2 separate regions of the Homo sapiens genome follow, and region 2 is linked to region 1. The links are contacts of gene promoters, found by promoter capture Hi-C in blood cells and fetal thymus (Javierre and others, 2016). All regions are on one chromosome and are shown on one strand. Each heading gives the region's core, a stretch centred on a gene start or on the middle of the fragment in contact. The rest is flanking DNA. Distances are from core to core; before and after follow the strand shown.

Region 1 (6,316 bases), core at 610-3,109:
CTCTCCCTGGGCTCACTCCACTCCAGCATACCAGCCTCGGGACCCTGGCTCCTGCTGTCCTGTCCTCCCAGTACACACTTTTCCAAGATTTCTTTTTCATGGCTCTCTCCCTCATGGAGCTTGTCCGGGATCTGTCCAGGCGCCACTCCATCAGAAAGATGCCTCTTTACCACACCATAGAAAACAGCATGCATGCCTCCTACCACTCTGTTGCCCCCACTGTTTTGTTTTCCTTCATAGCATGTATCATCCCTGACATGTCGTAGATTTGCCCACTGGGCCTGTGCCCTCATTAAAGCTCTACGAGAGGGACTTGTTTGTCTCCTAGAACTAGGGCCAGTACCCGGTACAGAGAAGGCTCTCGATAAACACCTTCTGGCTGAATTCAAGCTTGAGTGCATGTGGCAATGACATGTGGGAGGAGATCGGGCTGGAAAGAGGAGCTGGGGTGCGACTGGGAAGGGCCGGCCTTGCTGCTGGGCTAAGGCGTTTGGACTCACCCTGCAGGCAAGATCCTTGGGTGTGCTGGTGCCCTCAGCAAGAAATGAGCCTGACTCATGTGGCCTTACCACCGCCAGCGCCCCCACATCTGTTAACAAGCCACGTCCAGGCTGTGCAGCGGGGCAGGGAGGGAAGCCACCCACCCCATCCCAAGCACCCAGCACCAAAGTCACACCCCATCCATCTGCACATGGCTGAGGGGCATATACTACTGACGTTGCTCATGCCTGCCAATCTGAAACCTCCAATTCACAGAAAAGGAAACTGAGGCTTGGTGAGAGGAGGTGACGTAAGTGGCAGTAGGGAAACCTCTTCTGCCCATGAAGATACAACTGTAACCACACTTGATCATGAAAGACCAAGCAGCCTCCGACATCAGGGTTTACAAAAGGAATCATACCTTTCTAGACCTGAAGTCACGGGGAATTCCTGATTACAACTGGAAGATCAACAGTTGGCTGGGTAACACGTTCATTTATGTCATAAATTGGCATCTTAGCCTAAGACTTTGTGTAGGGAGAGCAAGGGTGAAGTGTATGAAAATATTTGAAGTAAATCACTTTACAGCGTTTTAAAGGCGGAAAGAAGTAAAAGCACGTGCCTCCCAGCCTTGCCAGGATCCACCTTGGGCTGGGTCCTCCAGGTCTCGATCAGGGCCGACCCATTCTGCATCCTCCGCCTGGACCCCTCCAAGGCTTTTGCTGTAACTTGCGCTCTCCTGAGCTGCCTCGCAAGCAGCAACGACCTCTCCCTGGTCTCTCATCAAACTCATCCTCCCAGAAACCGGGTTCCTGCCCTGTACTGTGTTCCCATGGCAACCTGAGCTTACTACCCGCTGCTGGCATCACCCCCTCTCCGCTGCAGCCCCCTGCAGGGCGAGCTTGTCTGATTCGCCTCTGTCCCCAGTGCCCAGCACCGGGCCTGGGACTCAGGGAGCTCTGAAAGGATGGGGAACTAGATTTTCGGGCTCAAAAGAGAAGAACCCAAGGCGGTAGGAAAGGAGAGCAGAGTCCCCACTGCGCCCGCCTGCACTGAACCAGTCAGTCCCAGGGCTCCCGCTGTCCTTGGCTAGTTCTCTACCCTCCAGAGGGCCTCGGTTTCCTCATCTGTAAATCGGGGTCGCCACCTCTCCTGCAGGGCGGTGCAGGGGCCCAGCCCGGATAAGCCACCGAGGGCGCTGGGGAGACCTGCACCAGGTCCCTGGCCTAGGAGGCGGCGGCCTCCCCCCGCCTCTCCGCCCGGGCGCCCCGGACTGCGAGCTGTGCGGTGTGGGGCGCGGGGGTCTGGCTCACCTGGAGGTGACGAGCACCGCCGGGGACTGCATGACGGCGGCGGGGACTCCGGGCGGGGCGCGCAGTCACGGGACCCGGCAGTGCCCGCGTCACCGCGTCCCCGCCCTGCCTCCCGCTGCCCTGGCCTGCCCCCTGGTGGCAGCGGCCGCGCAGTTCGCGCCTGTGGCCAGAGGCGGGGCGGAAGCGCGGCTGGGCGGGTCCCGCACGGTCGCCGTCGGCCTGCGCTGCTCGGAGCTTCCGGAGCACCCAGGCTGAGCCGCGCCCGCCGCAACCACCTAGAAGAAGCCCAGCCTGGCCCTGGCACACGGTGAACCTTAATCGGTGTGTCTGTTTTGCGCTAAAGTTTAGCCGTTAGAGAGACGGGACTCTGCTGTTTCCGCCGCCAGTCCCCATTACAAAACCACTCCCCCTCTGCCCCAAGACCATTTCATTCAACCGATCGGTCAACAAATATTTACCAAGCTGGGGCTCTGTCCAGGCTTCGTGGGGTCTTCTTCAAGCTGCACAGTGAACGCCACGCAGCAGCCCAGTCCCCTTGAGCTTGCTGCCTCCAGCTAGCTCGCCTATCTGGTTCCTACTGCCTGCCCGCTCCATAAATGGCAGGCACTCTCCCGACAGGGGATCTTTAGAGAGGCAGCCTCTGCTGCTTGGCAGAGCCCTGGTGGAGGCCTCCCGGGGCCGGGCCTGCCTGGGATGGCTGCACTTGGGTCCCCAGCTGGAGCAGGGCAACGGGGTCCAGGAGCCAGTTCCCCTCAGAAGGGGAACGTACAGACATGCAGACCCTAACAGACCCACTCATTTTAGATTCACCTCTCCATGGGGTGAGGAACAGAGAGATCGTATCACCTGCCAACGTAGCCCAGGGAAAGAAAAGCTGAGTCTGCAAACAGGGCCAGCAGAAGGTGCAAACTGCTGCCCCTGTTCTGTTACTCCCTCCACCCAGAGCCCCAGTGACAAAAAGAAAGAGAAGCTGGGCTTAACTATACCAGAATTCACGGCAGGGCGATGTCAGCCATGTTTCCTGAGCCTATCAACCACCGCCACCAGCATCACCAACAATATCTACCAGTTTTTACAGATTTTAGTGAAGAAATCCTACAGTAAAAGATTTTGAAAAATGACTTTCCCCAATGTATCTCTTGAATAAATACGGACATTGATATGCCTTATTATTTGTCTCAGATTTGTTTATAGGCAAGATGAGCAATCATGAATGAAGTATGACAATGAATGAAAGTTCTGAGGGAGACCCTTGAAGGCTGCAGTGAAGAGCTGGGATGATGGCGGGAACCCCTGTCTGCTCTGCTGCTCATCGGCCTGTCCGTCTGCAGGGCCGTGTTCATGGCTGCAAATGGTCCTCCGTGTTTTGTTTAAATTGGCATGCCCTACTTTAGAGAAAGGGAGTTCAGGGTCTGGACAGAAAGCAGTATAGGCTTCAGCATTCCAGGAGTCTGAGTGTAGTGCCAGGCAGTCGAGCAGTCACCATTGCACTCACATTTATCCAACAGACAGAAACACAGTGAATAAGACACTTTAGATGCCTTCAGTGGACTTCTTTGCCCTCCTACATGGGGAGTGGGTGGGGGTCTGGAAAGGCTTTCTAAAGGAGCTGAAGTCCAAGGGAAAACCTGAAGAAATATGGATAGAATAGATTAGAAGGAATGTCACGTGCAAAGCCCTAGCGACAGGATAGGAACACCAGGGAACAGGGGGAAGAGGCCAGCAGGAGCCAGGGTGTGGACAGCCTAGTGCACCAAGGCCAGGGCTTTGCCTGATCCTGAGGCCAACACAGCGCCATCAGAGGGTCAGGGACATAGGAGTGGCTGGGCCAGCTAGGGCGTGGGCAGGGTTTTGGAGCATGTTGAAGGTATGAAGATGAGCTGGACTGCAGAACAATCCAGACAAGAGACAATGGTCCCATGAACTAGGGTGATGGCCACCCAGGTGGAGAAGAGGGGACGGGTAAGAGGGCCTTAGGAGAAGGAGTTGGTCAAGACTTGGGAATCCAATGGGTGTGGGCGGGAAGAGATAAGATACCACTATGGTTTGGCTCTTGTGAGTGGCTGGACATTGGTATCATTCTCTGTGGCAGGGCACCTGGAGAAGGAGCATATTTTTGGTAGGATGATGGGTTCTGTTTCAGACAGGCAGTGTTTGAAGGGCTGGACCTATTGATGCGATTGGGTTTATGGCCCTGGGCCTCAGGAAGCCGACCTGGGCTGGAGACTGACATAGGAGTCATGGGTAAAAAGGAGGCTGTTGAGCCTGAGAGTTGGGGTGAGCCCACCAAGGATGGTCTACAATCCAGAGATATGCAGCGGTGTTGGGGGGCTGCAGAGAAGGGGACTCTCCATCATTGTGGGAGCTGGTAGCATGTCTGTCACCAATGCCTTGTAAGCAAATGAGAGGGCCTCACCTGTGCCCCTGGGGTTGTGAAGTGTGCACCTCAGGAAGACTCGGCCCACCTGTCAAGAATGCAACTGGTTTCCCATGAAAGAACGACCCCATTCCCAACAGCAATCCCATTTTCTGCCTCTGTGGGTCCCACGTGCCCCTCTATGGCTCCAGCGCGTAATTGTATACAATGCATGGAATGTGGGATCTAAATCTGATATTTTCTGCTTCCTGTTTAATTCAAGGAGCCCCTTCCATGGCTGAAGCTGCGGTAACACAAACCACATTGCAAAGGATTTTCTATTTCTCTCTTTCTCACTGCCCTGGGAGGAACACTCCAGGCCTCAGTTTCCACCCAGGAAGTCACTGGGCCTCAGGACACTGTGGTCACTGAGAGACACCCGCAGCCTGCAGGGGGTGCTCTGAACTCTGGCTGAGCCATGCACCAACGTTTCCCATGGTGGCTCGGGTCTTCTGGGACCTTATAATTTGTCTCTGTTCCCTAATGTGATACTTTAGAGCTCCAGGGTCTGGGCACATCCACATGGAGCAGGGCCACCACCTTGCTTGTCACTCAGCAAACACTCATAGGTACAGCTCCAGGCCTGTTATCTCCCCAGGCCTGGGGGCTACAGAGCCTTATCCTGTGGGGCTCACAGCCCACTGCAGGGGCTCACAGGCCACTCTAGGACAGCTGGAGATTTCAACAAGGATGCACGCCTAGGGTGCTATGGTGCACAGAGGAGGGCACATAACTAACTCAGCCTAGGGTTGGGCATACAAAGAATTCTGCCAGGAGGAGGTGATGGCAGACCTGGGTTGTAAAAAGTAGGTATTATTTTTTTGAGACTTGATTTTCTCACTGGTGAAATGCACGTAACAGAAACCTTTAAATCATAACATTGCTTGAATTACATGAGGTAAAATGAGACTGAAACAAGATGAAATGTATGGCAGGCATTGGTGATGAGCTAACCGGAAGCCATTCACAACCCCCTTCTTCCTGGTTTTTATTACCATAGAGGCTGGAGAAGTAAAACACATGTCCCATTTCAGTTACAAGGGGCCATGTGACATAACTGACCACATATACTTAAGTCCCTGTGGAGGATTTATCTTGCTAGGAGAAAACTCTTCGCTCCTTCCTTGTCTTCTACCTGGGAAGGGGATACAGTGTTGGAGACACAGCAGCCATCATGGGAGCAGGAGGCACAGACATGAGTTTGGAGTCTACCATGTTAGGGATGAACAAGCCTGGGGAGCTGATGGCATATGAGCTTGCATACACGCCCTGGACTTTTTCTACAAAGTTCTCCTTGCATAAATGCCTAAATCACTCTAAGTGGGGGTTTTCTGCAGTGGATTTCCTGTTGGTGTAGTTGTAAAGTACTTACATAATGCCTGACATAAAAACTGCTCCATAGGGGATGCAGGGATGACTGAGGAGGAGGAAGAAAAGAGGTAAAATGTGTACTAGGAAGGCAGCTTGTCTTTTTTTTTTTTTTTTTTTTTTTTTGAGACAGGGTCTCATTCTGTCGCAGTGGCATGATCACAGCTCACTGTAGCCTCAACCTCCTTGGGCTTAGGTGATCCTCCCACCTCAGCCTCCCAAGTAGCTGGGATCACAGGTGTGTGCCACCATGCCCAGCTAATTTTTGTGTTTTTTGTAGAGACAGGGTTTCCCTATGTTGCCCAGACTGGCCTTGAACTCCTGGGCTCGAGCAATCTGCCCTGCTGAGCCTCCCAAAGTGCTAGGATTACAGGTGTGAGCCACCATGCTCAGCCTAGTACGTCTTGATAGAACCAGAGCGTATCTGAGGAGCTGGTGAGAAGAATATGTGGAAGGATTGCTGGGAGAGGAGGCAGCAGAGGGCAAGAGGAGCCTGTGTTCCCGCAGCATAGAGGGCCTTGTGCGCTATGCAAAGGAGCTCACATCTTATCCTGAAGAAGGAGGGAGTGGGCTCACAGAACAAAGGGAAAAGAGTGTTTCAGGAAGAGACTGGGGTGTGATCAGCAATGCCAAACACTGCTGAACATCCAGGAAGATAAGGAGGTGTTCAAGAAAAACAAACAAAAAAACCCCACAGAACTGAACAGTAGTTAAAGTGGTGAAAGCAGATTTTATTTGG
Region 2 (5,541 bases), core at 2,052-4,551, 680 kb before region 1:
TTCTGGAACACAGATCTAATCATAACCTACCCTGCTTTTTAAAAGGTTTAATAACTTTTAAAAATCAGTAAATCCCCACCATCACATTCTTTAGCATGGCATACAATGCCTTTTTCCCATCTTGTCCAAAATCATATTATGTGGCTTAATATCCCACTATTTAGCCATAACTGCTGTGTGCCTGCTCGTGAAGGAACTACTCTGCCTCCACAGCTTTGGCCTATACAATATCCCTTCTGCCTGAAATCCCCCTCTTCTTTCCTCACAGCTCCCCTATCCTTACTGGTCCTTGTCCTCCTGGAGCACGCCTATTCATCCATCAAGATACAGCTCAAATACTGCTTCCTCAACGAGTCCTGCCTTCTTCCCCCATTCTATGGTTCCAGAGAATTACAGAATGAGCTCCTTAAGAGTACTAACTGTATCATATTCACATTTCTTTCCCTTTCCATTAATAGATTATTTGATAAACTGATAGTCAATATATATCTTCAATAAATATACATTCAAATTTTTTTAATTTAAAATTTAAAATAAATAAACAGTACTTTTTATGACCAAATTAACGAGTGAATAAATGAATACAAACACTTTTTTAATGTGGCTATAAGGCAATCGAACATTTTTAATCTATATCTTTTATTTGACAGAATGATAGAATCCCCAAAATTTCAATGAACTTTACTGGTATCCCTTGTTCTAAGCAGATACCCTCTAGGGTCAAATTTAATGTTACTATAGTTTGAATGTCTGTCCCCTCCAAAACTCACATTGAAATGTAATTGCCATTTTGACAGTATTAAGAGATGAGACCTTTAAGCAGTGATCAGGGCATGAGGGCCCTCATGGCTGGGACTACTGCCATTATACAAAGGGGAATTAGGTCCCCTCTTGTCTCTCTGTTGCACTCTCTTTGCCCTTCTTCCTTCCACCATGAAATTATGCAGCAGAAAAGCCCTCACCAGATGTCAGTAGCTCAATACTGGACTTCTCATTCTCCAGAACTGTGAGCCAATAAGTTTCTGTTAATATATACTATGCAGTCTGTGGTATTCTGTCATAGCAGCACATAATAGAGTAAGACAAATGTATTGAGCTCCATTTTCCCAAGGAAACCAATGGAAGAAAAAAACTCAAAGTTTTAACCTAGGAGGGTCTGATCTATCTGTCTTGCTACCTGTATGAAATTAAAGGTGAACCAGCAAGCCCTCTACAGTACTCTTGGTATTGACCCATCCATAAGAGGAGGAGAATACGACCATCTTCTAACTGCAAACCAGCCAGGATGTGGCAGCAGCAAGGAAAGAAAACCACCTTTTAGTAAGCCCTCATTACATGCCAGGCACTGTGTAGGCATTTCCTCATTGTAATCTCCTTTAATCTTTACAACAGCACCATGACGTATTTCCTTTATTTCTGAAAATAACTAAACTGTGTCTCAGAGGCTAAATAACTTCTCTACGTCAAACTACACTGTGGAAAATGAATTCAATACCAGATCAACTTGACTACAAACCCTATGCTCTGTTATCTCCTACCATGGCTAAGACCACAGTGCAAAACCCAGGAGCCCCTGGCCCTCAGAATTTAAAAGCAAATTCTTCTCTGAGGTTTTCTTAAGTTTAAATCATTAAGTTTAAATTGTTAGATAACTTCCATCCAGGTTATCTTTCCTACCTTAACAATAACACAGATCCAAATAATTCCCCATATATTCACTCACTCAGAAAATACTGACTACTATGACCTGAGGAACTATGCTAGATACTTTTAGTTACAGCTAAACCAAACCCCACTTACAGTTTTCCGTTTAACACTTAACACATTGTTTTGCAAGACAAACAAACAGACTTTAGAACCCATGTTTTTCTACCTGGGGAAGGCTGAACTAACAAAAATAAGCAGATAAAACATTATGATAAATAAGTAAATGGCAACCAACAAAAATAACCAATAAAGAACAAGAATTAAGAAGGAGGCTATAAATATAGAAATAATTAGAATGCAGATTTTTAATTATTTAGGAACCTTGAAAACTATGCTTTTTTTTTTCCTTCACTTTTACATCTACGAGAAATATTGTCGTTTGACAATGTATAGAGAGCATCTACGTTCTACAGTATATTCTACTGGGTAACTTTGAGATACTGATTCAAAAGCATCAGAAGACATCATTTCTTGCCCTAAAAGAAATTATTAAAATATATAAAAATAACATTAAAACAACTGGTATAGGCTTTTATGCAGCCAAAAATATATATCACTGTAGTCTATGGCGAATTTATAAAAGCCAACAGGGTATTCAAAAGGGACAAAATATAGTACTGGGTTAGAAAATAAGACATTCAAAAAACGTATTAAGCTTAGTTATTAATAAGCTCTCACTTTCTAAATTCTTTAAAATTCACAATATATTAATTCTCCTACTTGACATTTTCCAATGCTACTTCTGAAAATTCTTTTAAAATTAAATTTATTAAAAATACTATTGAGAAGGATAATACTCATATGTACATTTATGAAAACAATGCTTTTATTTTAATGTAGCATCACCTAAGATTAATTATTAAATTTTCTTCAAATAACTGATTACTTTGCAACAAATTAAAAGTATTAGAAGTTTGAAGGAAGGACAGACAGATATGTATGTTTAACATCTAAACACATTTAAAATATCACATTAAAAATCAGAAAAATTAATCTGAAACAACTATATTATACTAAATACTACTCAAAAGCTGGCTATGAAAAGAGACACATATTCAGATCACAGAGAAAATATTCAAAATAACTACTCCATGGTGATTTCTTATGTTAAACTTCTGGTTTTCTGAATGTATAAAATTGTAATTTTTATTTTATAATTATAAAACTATAAGATTATAAAATTCCATGATAAAATACAACAAAGATTTATACTATGAAGATGAAATGTCCCTAAAAGAAAATGTGATAAGTTTACACCGTTTCCTTTGTTATTTTTTCCTCTACCTTACTCACTGCACATTTAAATAGAAAGAAAGAAGATCAATTTGAATGCATTTACCTCACCAAACGGAGTGTAAAACTGCACAATGTTCACATCTTTGTCCTGCATGGCTGCCTTCTGGAAGCCTGCCACAGCTAACACGCTGCCCATGTGGTTCCACTGGATGCCTACTACGTACATGCCAGTGTCAATCAAAACGGGATCTAGTCAGAAAGAGAAAAATGAGGTCACTGTGGGAAAATACGTAGCCTAGAGAACTTTATAATCTTAAGAACAACTTTTAAACATTTTTAAAACTTTCCACATTTTTAAAAAAACAGGGCTGGGTACAACGGCTCACGCCTATAATCCCAACACTTTAGGAGGCTGAGGCGGGCGGATCACTTGAGTCCAGGAGTTCAAGATCGGCCTGGGCAACATGGTGAAACCCTGTCTCTACGAAAAATACAAAAATTAGCTGGAGGAGTTGGTGCACACCTGTGGTCCCAGCTCCTCAGGAGGCTGAGACCTTGAGCCTGGGAGGCCAAGGCTGCAGTGAGCCAAGAACGCACCACTGCACTCCAGCCTCGGCAACAGAGCAAGACCCTGTCGCAAAAAAAAAAAAGTTAAAAATTAGAAATTGAGGCCGGGCACAGTGGCTCACGCCTGTAATCCCAGCACTTTGGGAGGCTGAGGCAGGTGGATCACGAGGTCAGGAGATAGAGACTATCCTGGCTAACAGGGTGAAACCCCGTCTCTACGAAAAATATAAAAAATTAGCCAGGCATAGTGGCACGCCCTGTAGTCCCAGCTACTCGGGAGGCTGAGGCAGGAAATTCGCTTGAACCCGGGAGGCAGAAGTTGCCGTGAGCCAAGATCGTGCCACTGCACTCCAGCCTGGGCGACAGAGTGAGACTCCATCTCAAAAAGAAAAAAAAAAAAATAGAAATTAAAAAAATTTTTTAAACAGAAAAATTCCTTACTTTGGTCATTCTCATGTCTCATTATTTGGCATCTTCCATTATCAAAGCAAACAGCAAGGCAAGGGCAATCAGGCTCCACGTAGCCTTCTGTGCCATGGTACCAATGAATTCCAGCAATGCTGATAGCTCCAGTGACATTCACCAAACAACTCAGTTTCATTTTTATCTAAATAAAATTGGTTAGGTTTAATATTTTACATTTTAAAACACAGCAGTATAGAGACAATACTCAATAGAGTATTGTAGAAAGAACACTGAAAAATACAGTCTAAAAATCAGGTGGCAAATTAAAGCTTAATCACTTACTGGTATACAGGCCATGGACAAATCACCTAAATGTCCATTTTCCCCACATGTAAAAAATGAGGATTAAAAAACACTGAGTTTTTATGAGACTCAAACAACAAGTATATAAAAGTACTTTGAAAACAGCAAAATGACATAAAAGTTCATTATTTTACTTCCACCAGTGAGTGGATTTACTTAATGTCCTAACCCTTGCTAAAAAACAAAACTGCCCCACCAGTAATCATACATCTATGATAGCTAAACCTTGCAAAGCCAGAATTTTTCTCCAGATTATGCTGCCTGATCCTATTCTATTTTACCTTCTTTCCAGGGATTGATTTTTCTCACTTACCATTTAAGTCTGTCATTCTTTTTACAAACAACCATTGGTAGCTTGCTACAAAAATACCCTGTGGTATCTACATGTAAACTTTGGCTTCAGACACCAGAAGACACCTATAAAACTTAAACTGCACATCGCCCTACTCATTATCTCTCTGCTTAAATGCACTGACACCTCGTCCTTTCTACCTACCAAAAAAAATTGGAACTAAAAGCTACACTCGAACTTGTTGCACTAATTTGCCTTGAGAAAACCAAAATTTTATTTAATTAAAACAAAATTTAGACGATTGGGAAAAAGAAAAAAAATCTGAATTGAAGACTTTAATTACACAAACCGCCATAAAAAATAAATGTATATACAAACATGAATGATATGTACGATAATCATATAAAATTGTATAAACAAGACTGATGCATACACTTACTTACCATAAAATTTCCTTGATTATCGTAAATGTGTATTTCCCCATTTGCCATTCCAAAAAGTAAGACTTTACTGTCCGCAGACCATGTTACATGGGATAGCTGTATACCCTTCAGGTCTTTTCCCCAAATACGATTGCCTAAAACAAAACATTATTAAAAGTTGTTCAAGGTCATGATCCTCCAACAACGGCTTTCGAAATCTTTGTTTTTCTAAAGATCTCACAAATTCTTCACAGCATTCATGCATTCATTCAATTTATTTGGCCAATAAATATTTACTGAGCACCTATATGTGCCTGAAAAGACATCTGAAATAGCAGCTGTTTCAACCTTTCTCCCCTTTCTTCTAAACTCTGATGCTGGATCTCACTCCCAATTAGCAGTTGAGCCCATCTTCTATTTTGGAAAGAAAATAAAAGCACCCAAAAAACAAATTCCTCATTCCCATCTTCAACAATTCAGAACATAACTGAGTCCATGCTTACACTTTCTGCGTTGCCCACTAATACAAAAGAAGAGGTATTTCCCCAG

What was found. Contacts are between HindIII fragments. The CHiCAGO score rates a contact against its expected background, and 5 or more counts as called.
Region 2: a contact is called between a fragment that was not itself captured here and the fragment with the promoter of HS1BP3 in region 1, in 2 of 17 cell types (neutrophils and total CD8 T cells). The highest score is 6.1, in neutrophils.

What each region holds. Positions count from the first base shown.
Region 1 is chr2:20,649,239-20,655,554 of GRCh38, forward strand. HS1BP3 (HCLS1 binding protein 3) reads right to left here and starts at 1,860. Exons shown (of 7, transcript NM_022460.4): 1 at 1,794-1,860. The coding sequence starts at 1,825. LOC105373466 (a long non-coding RNA gene) reads left to right here and starts at 2,044. Exons shown (of 2, transcript XR_001739320.2): 1 at 2,044-2,114; 2 at 2,737-2,962. RefSeq lists enhancers at 1,207-1,286, 1,307-1,456, 1,541-2,278 and a silencer at 1,537-2,126. The HindIII fragment of the contact is 7,312 bases long and covers 389-6,316 here.
Region 2 is chr2:19,970,517-19,976,057 of GRCh38, forward strand. It overlaps WDR35 (WD repeat domain 35), which reads right to left. Exons shown (of 27, transcript NM_020779.4): 6 at 5,014-5,147; 7 at 3,952-4,117; 8 at 3,047-3,192. Among named protein-coding and RNA genes, the nearest start is that of WDR35, 17 kb to the right of the region's middle. The HindIII fragment of the contact is 1,882 bases long and covers 2,361-4,242 here.